2 separate regions of the Homo sapiens genome follow, and region 2 is linked to region 1. The links are contacts of gene promoters, found by promoter capture Hi-C in blood cells and fetal thymus (Javierre and others, 2016). All regions are on one chromosome and are shown on one strand. The core of a region is centred on a gene start or on the middle of the fragment in contact, and the rest is flanking DNA. Distances in the headings are between cores, read along the strand shown.

Region 1 (3,572 bases), core at 306-2,805:
AGAAGCTCCCCTTCATTGGCTCGTCAGCTTTCAGAGTAGCGAAAGTGTCCTCGCAGTTTTAAAAACACTTACACAAACGGGAATCAGTCTGACACTTGTACTCAGAATGAGAAACATTATCATGATATCAATAAGTATATATTTATTCTTTGGGGGATATTATTGCCAGAAAGAAAAGGAAATATATTAGATCTGAGTGTCATTTCCTAAGATTCTTTTCTAAAATTATAGCTTTAACCCTTTAGCCGCAGTTTGGAAGGGAGACCCATCTGCTGATTTGATGTACTAAATAGAAGGCACTTGGTTTCCAAACACTATTCTCAGATTCGCAAAGTTGCGCTGTGATGAATAAATAATGAATCAGATATTTCAATCCGTTTTATGATTTTTGAAAGCCCTGATTATCATTGTTTACAGTCTCTTCTTAATGCACTTCCCATGCGTTCTTGTTCAGCCTTCCAAGAGTTGGTTTATGTAGGCCACCCTCTCCCAACCTCGCTTTACTTTTGGACTGCTCTCACGTGTTAACCCACCCGCTCACACCTTTAAACCAGTTTGGGGAATATTTCAAATCTGAGGGGGGAAATCTTGAGCGACAGATGACAAGGAGTATTCGCAAACACTCCAGGCTAATGTTGCTTGTATTTGGTCACAGGTGTGCCCTGCTTTTGCGTACTATAATATCTCTATTGGTGAGAAAGAGGGAGAAAATTATGCTAAAACCACATGGATAGAAAGGAAAACGGCACTGCTGAAATCAGGAAGGATCAGCATTCCTTTTCTCCTATACATACGTGTGTATACTCAGATAAATAATGATAAATCACGGCAGTGTGAGGGAGGCTTTTAACAAAATACAAGCTTCAAAATAGGAATATCTTCACAAGTTTTCAAAAAGCTAATCAGAGCAAATGAGTGACAAATCAATGTAATGCTTCTAAATATTCTCCTGCCCCAATATTGCTTAACTCCTCTTCTCCACTCCTCCTAAATAACCAGTTGGTGGTGAGGAGGAGAAATGAGGTTTGTATTTCAATATACAGGTGTGAAGTGAAAAAGAAAGCGTCCGGGGGGTGAGATTTAAATCACATATCCGAACATACCAGAGACAGGAGTTATTCTAAACTGTGTAGATAAAATCCCTTTCGGAGAGTCCCCGTGCCCATCCCCACTCCCCTTCGCGGGATTGCTGAGGGCAAGTTATGTTTTTTGAAAAGGTAGTAGGCATCGGTGTTTCTGGTTTTGCTTAGTGCGTCTTCATCGTATTCCCTCGCTGAGGACTGAGCCTGGCCGACTCAGGGAACCGAGTTCAATGAAATCCTCAGACGCATAAAGCACAGGGTGCCGGCCCACCGAGCTGCGCTCCCTTCCCGGGGGTGCCCGAGAGAGAGCACGCGAGCCCGGCGCAGCCAAACCCGGGCAGGGGTGGGTCCCCACCGCGTGTGCGTGTGCCAGCCTGGGAGTGTCGGCGCGAGCGTGGCGGGTGCGTGCCGGTGTGTGTGCGTGACAGCGCGCGCGTGGCAGGGAGTTCGCGCGCCAGGGTGCGCGTGCCAGCGCGGGTGTGCGAGGGAGTGCGCGCGGGTGGGAGCGCCAGGGGCTGGCGGGGCCCGCGCCCTGGGACGAGCCCCTCGTGCTCCGGCTCTGCGCTCCCGCAGCGCCCACGCAGCCGAGAGGAGTGGGTGATGACTTCGTGACCTCAACGTCCTCCCCCGTCCCTCGACATGTTCCCGCGCCTGAAAGGTGCAGAAAACTCCCCCCACCGCTCTGGACGAGACTGAGCTAGGCGTCGAGGGCGGGCGCCGCCGCAGACCGGAGCTCGGGCTCGCTGGCCGCTCAGGCGCAGCGGTGTGGAGGGAACGGACGCGCGGCAAGGCGACCCGCTCTGGGCAACGCGGGCGCAGCTGCCCCGACGCAAGGCACTAGCTGGTCGGGGGCTCGGGCGAGCCGGGGCCGGCGTGCCGGGGCGTGCGCTCTCTCGGCAGGCGAGCGCCGGGCTCCGCGGAGGTCCCTGCGCCCACTGCCTGCTTCTCCGCCCGGCGACCCGGAGTCCCCAGGCTGCGGTGCGCCAGGCCAGACCTGACCGAGGGCGGAAGACCCGAGCGGCAGGGAGGCAGAAAGAAAAGAGGTAGCAAGCCCCAGACAAGGGATCCTTAATTACAGATAAAAGGCAAACAAAACCGTACACCACATTTTCCACGTGTCAGCTGACGGCCGCGACAAAAGGAAACAGAACGCTGGGGGGTGGGGGGGAGGCCCCTTCTTAGCTGCCCCCCACCCCTTGACAATGTGTGCAAATGTAAAATGCATTAGGTAGTAACTCTGGATAGGTGGTGCCCGGGGCCAAATTGCAGCTGCACGCTCCATCGTGTAGGACAGTTTGCTGATGCACCCAGAGGTCTGGGGAACCTCTTACAAAAAAGGGACTACAAATACTCCGCTTGAGCACATTTTGCTTCTTAAAACTTCATTACTCATACATTTTAAGTTAAAAATTTTGTGCTTAAAGTGTTGCAATTATCTTCAGTAAAATTCTAATACACACACACATACACACAATTTTGTTTTGCAGTTTTGTAGATTCCATTTTATTGGCCTGGTATCACAGCATTAGAAATACAAGGGGAAAAGCCAAGACGATGAAAGCCAGGGAACATAGCTGCAAGCACCAGAGAGCACAAGTTCCCCTCCATGGCTCTGCGGCTCAAATGGAAAAAGGAGAGATGTCTGCTTTGATTTCTTTCCTTTTAATTAATCAGGATCACAAAGCAATCTCCACCCTGTCCCTGGGATTTAAGATACTGGTTAAACTCCACCGTGTCCCGAATTCTCCACAGAAGGTGGAGGAGTGTTCAGAATCTGAAGTCCACCCGCGGACCATTAAAAACCTCTAGGTCTGTGCCCTCATTTTTAACACTCAAATTAAAGGATCACCCTGAGCCACCACGCAGTGCACTCTTCTCTATTTTCTCCCTCTTGTTGCTGGGCCGGTTTTGGAAATTAGAAGGGGTGGTCTCTTTGTTAGCAATCTGTTTACTTTCTTCTGATACAATGAAGCATCAGGTCGAAGGTGACAAGGCTTCTTTGCTTAGTCATTTTTACCCATCTCTTTGTAGATGATGTTTTTTTCCATTTTCAATTTTTTTTTTCATCAATGCCATCTCCCCAACAGCATTTCAAAAATAAAATTTCCAAGTCCTTTTTTTAAATGTGGTTCCAGTCAAATGATTTACCCACACCCCAAATAATATTATTTACATCCAGTATTAATAGCTGCATATCAGTAATTCTTAGAGATCTTCTGATCCATATTTAACAATTTAAATGATGGCTAACATTATTGCCAGGCAAATGCCTGAACCAATAGTTTGTGGACTAGTTGCCAGCCAGATGACAGCCAGGTATACACAGGGTAAGAACATAATTAAGTTTCTGCCCTAGTCTCTTCAATTGCAGAAGGCAGACAACACTCTTTCTCACCTTCCAGGGAAGTAGATTAGCAGATTAACAAAATGATGTAAATCACATAAGCTTTACATCCCCCTTCCCCTTCTAATACCTATTTAGGAACACTT
Region 2 (3,572 bases), core at 606-3,105, 210 kb after region 1:
CCAAAATAACTTGTTTCACTATCATATTATATTATATTGGGCTAGCCAGAGAAATAGAAGAAACTGGTAGAAATGCATCCGGAAATCCAGATCACTAGGTCCTAACTGATTACATAAAGGTACATATAAATTATAAAGCGCCGCAACACCATGATCTTCGAATTCAATGAAATAAATGTGGTAATACCAGTCCGCAACAACAATGGTTCAAACTTAAGATTTTTTAAATTTCACAATGGTGAAAATGTAATATATATTCAATTGAAACCATACTTCGAATACTGAATTTTGATCTTTTCCTGGGCTAATGGTATGTGCACAATATTCTCTCACGATGCTAGGCAGCAGCAGTGAGGCACAAATCTCAGTCAGCCACATGATCACAAGGGTAAACAACCAATACTCTACAGTGGCCTGTGCTGCCAGATGATTTTGCCCAACTGTAGGCTAATGTAAGTATTCTGAATATGTTGAAGGTAGGTTAGGCTAAGCTATGATGTCTGATAGGTTAGTTGTATTAAATGCATTTCAACTTATCATATTCTCAACTCACAATAATGGGTTTACCAGGCTGTAATCCTATCGTAAGTTGAGGAACATCTGTATACAAGATTAAAGGGATAAAGCAATTGGTTTTATTCCACCCTAAAAATGATAGATCAATACTACTGGAAAGAAGACATGTTATGTCCACAGGACTGCAGAACACCACAGAATAAGTAGAGCTTATAGAATAGGAATGCCGTAGCCAAACGTCAGTTTAGTTTAAGTCATATTTGCTGAGACAGCCAAATTTACTATTACAATGTTAATATCTAGCAGAATAAAAAATGAACAAAAAGAGTGTTGGCCTGCTACTTCCGTGCATCCCTTGAAAAAAACTGATTTTCTATACAAGTATTGTTTATTAGTTGCTACCTAGTGCAAATTTGGGGGGTGTGGGTGATTACAACACGAACAATACAAAGGAATGTCACAGAAGTGCTGACACAACACTAAGCAATAAGGAAGCTAATATAATAATATACCAAAAGTTGAAGGATGTTTTACAGCTAGTCTTGTTTTCACCATATGTCACATATTGTAATAGTGACCTACAGGTCATAATATATAGTTGTGACATGTGTTCATAAGTCAGAGGGTTAGTGAAATCACTGTTTAAGGTGAGTGCTTATGTCAGTCATCTTTAAAGTCCTTAACTGCCACACAGTCCAGAAAGAAATCTGACAGTGCCAAAAAAAGCAGAAGTCAGCAAGAAAACTAAAGAAACATTTGAGGAAGCAGGAGTCATACTTTTCAAAGAGAATCTGAACAGGACTGCCTTTTGACACTCTTATTTTTCCTCTGGACAACTGTGAACCATTTTTTCCCCATTAAGAAGCCAACTGATGATGAAGTACACTTCTCTCTCTCCAAGCTTGTCTATAAGTTTACCCTCTTGAGAAAAGCAATGCTGAAAAATCATGTACAAAACTTTTATAGTCTCATTCCCTATCAGCAAAAACAATGTTTTATGAAAGTGAGGAGGAATCGAGAGCTGAATTGTTTTTAGATAGCTTCCCTCAAACGGCATGTGACCCAATGACTTACATTCTTAAAAATCCAGTCTATGCTAAATTAAAGATCCAAGATAGTTTACAGAAATATCCTTTTTGGTACATTTCCTCCCTGATATGAGTGGATGTAACTTCCATTAACTTTAAAGCCACCCATAAAGGAAAAAATAGACTTAGTTTTTTTCCCAATGATTTCTCAGGGGTAATAAACACACTATCTGAGGAAAAGAATGATGCTAATTCAAGAAATCAAAAGAATATTACAAATGTTTTCCATATTGATAAAGCACAAAATGATTTTATTTTCATTTTTAAAACATATTTTCCTTCTCTGTTTCAATATAAAGTATTTTAATTTTATTATGAAATTTTAAAACGGCTGCTTTTTTTATGAGACATTTGACGTGAAGCAGTTGCACTCTATTTTGATAGCACTGCTACTTCACAATTGAAGCAGCTTGTAAAAATGATTGTAGGAAAACATTCACAAAATGCACACAACACAGAATTATTACTATATAGCCATTTTTCTATGTCAACTAAACTATGAAACATTCTTGCAAGAATTGCGGGTCTGTTCAAATACATCATCAAACCCAGTTGCTAATAGCTGTTAATAAAGATAAATAAAATGTACAAAATCACTGACAAACAGATTCCGTTTGACTGTTGCAGTTATGTGAATAGGATCCAATAGCAAAGCCATTTCAGAATTGTTATTAACTTCTTTCATTAACTAAGCTTCAGGAGATACACTTTGTCGAAGTAACAATAGAGGACCATCACCTTTAAAATGTCATGGTATTTTAAGGCTGTGCCATTTCAGAAGACTCAACGAAGGAAAAAAGAAAACACTACCTAAGGATTCATTGTCCATAGTCTTCTCTGTCTTACAATTTAAAAAAAAAAAAAAAAAAAAGGCGGGGGAGACAAAACCCCAAGTTGCTCCATTATGCTTTAATTTTTACTTCTCTGTAAAACTCTATTTTGATTTTAGCTGAATACAGTGATCGTGATTAATAAGTAAGAGTTGACTAACTGCACTTTCTAAATGCCTTAAGCAATAGATCATGAAATCAAGGGGTGAAGGTCCCTGCCAACCTTTTAATTCTATTTTGAATGTTGTGAAAAATAGATAATTAGCTCAACATATAATTAGATTGTTACATATATGTATTTTTATAAAATGATTAGTTGTGATCTTACATATACTGCAGAAGGAAGAATTGTTTAAATATTTGCACCTACCTTATGGTGTTTTAAAAAAAGGTGTACAATAGTAGGTCTCCAGATTTAAAACGTAACCACCTACAAAGAAAAAGGTAGCAAAGGGCCAAATATAATGATACAATCCATACCTACCATGAAAGAATTTGGTTGTATCCATATTGGAAATCCCTCTCCTGACATTTCTTGACAGGATATATCAACTGGTTCTCGTGAAAATACAGAATCTTTTTCAGTTTCCCAAGGTCAGGCCGAAGGGCAGCCAGTTCGGTCAGGTTAAGCACTGAACTTGCAAAGAGGGTCCTAGGAAACAAGAAAATTGGGGTTTACTGTCCCAAGTATGTTTGAAGGGATCATGCTTTGCTCTTCTCTCCTCTTTCCTCTTCCCACCCCAAGAAAAACACATCCCCTATAGGGACACATCAATAGTTGAGGCTTAATACCATGTAGCAGCATTCTAAGTTTTGATCTCTTAAAAAGCAGCTGCTTAGAACTATAAAGTCCCCGAATCTCACTGGTCTTCTCAGTGCAGTTACTGAGAAATGTTAAAAAAAAAAAAAAAAAAAAAAAAAAAAAAAAAAAGCCGGATGGATTTTATTGAAAAAGGCAAGAAAAGCTCTATCTGAAGGACAAATGGAACAAAGATAAGACTGACTGCGGAATACTTTGCTTGCCAGTTTCATTACACTTTCCTTCTTTATGCAACCAACTACTGAAATTCAATGTATGAGCAGGAATGGCACATGTTCATGTTATGACATAAACTCTTTTGATTTATGCAATAGACTT

Evidence for each region. The method cuts DNA at HindIII sites, captures the fragments that hold promoters and counts their contacts. A CHiCAGO score of 5 or more calls a contact.
Region 2: a fragment that was not itself captured here is called in contact with the fragment with the promoter of QTMAN-AS1 in region 1 in 1 of 17 cell types (megakaryocytes); the score reaches 5.6 in megakaryocytes.

Annotation. Positions count from the first base shown.
Region 1 is chr2:143,935,512-143,939,083 of GRCh38, forward strand. It overlaps QTMAN-AS1 (QTMAN antisense RNA 1), which reads left to right and starts at 1,556. Exons shown (of 3, transcript NR_110237.1): 1 at 1,556-2,125. QTMAN (queuosine-tRNA mannosyltransferase) reads right to left here. Exons shown (of 12, transcript NM_001376312.2): 12 at 2,557-3,572. RefSeq lists an enhancer at 980-1,663 and a silencer at 1,858-2,057. The HindIII fragment of the contact is 2,667 bases long and covers 860-3,526 here.
Region 2 is chr2:144,142,654-144,146,225 of GRCh38, forward strand. QTMAN (queuosine-tRNA mannosyltransferase) reads right to left here. Exons shown (of 12, transcript NM_001376312.2): 5 at 2,919-3,086. Among named protein-coding and RNA genes, the nearest start is that of QTMAN, 190 kb to the right of the region's middle. The HindIII fragment of the contact is 880 bases long and covers 1,416-2,295 here.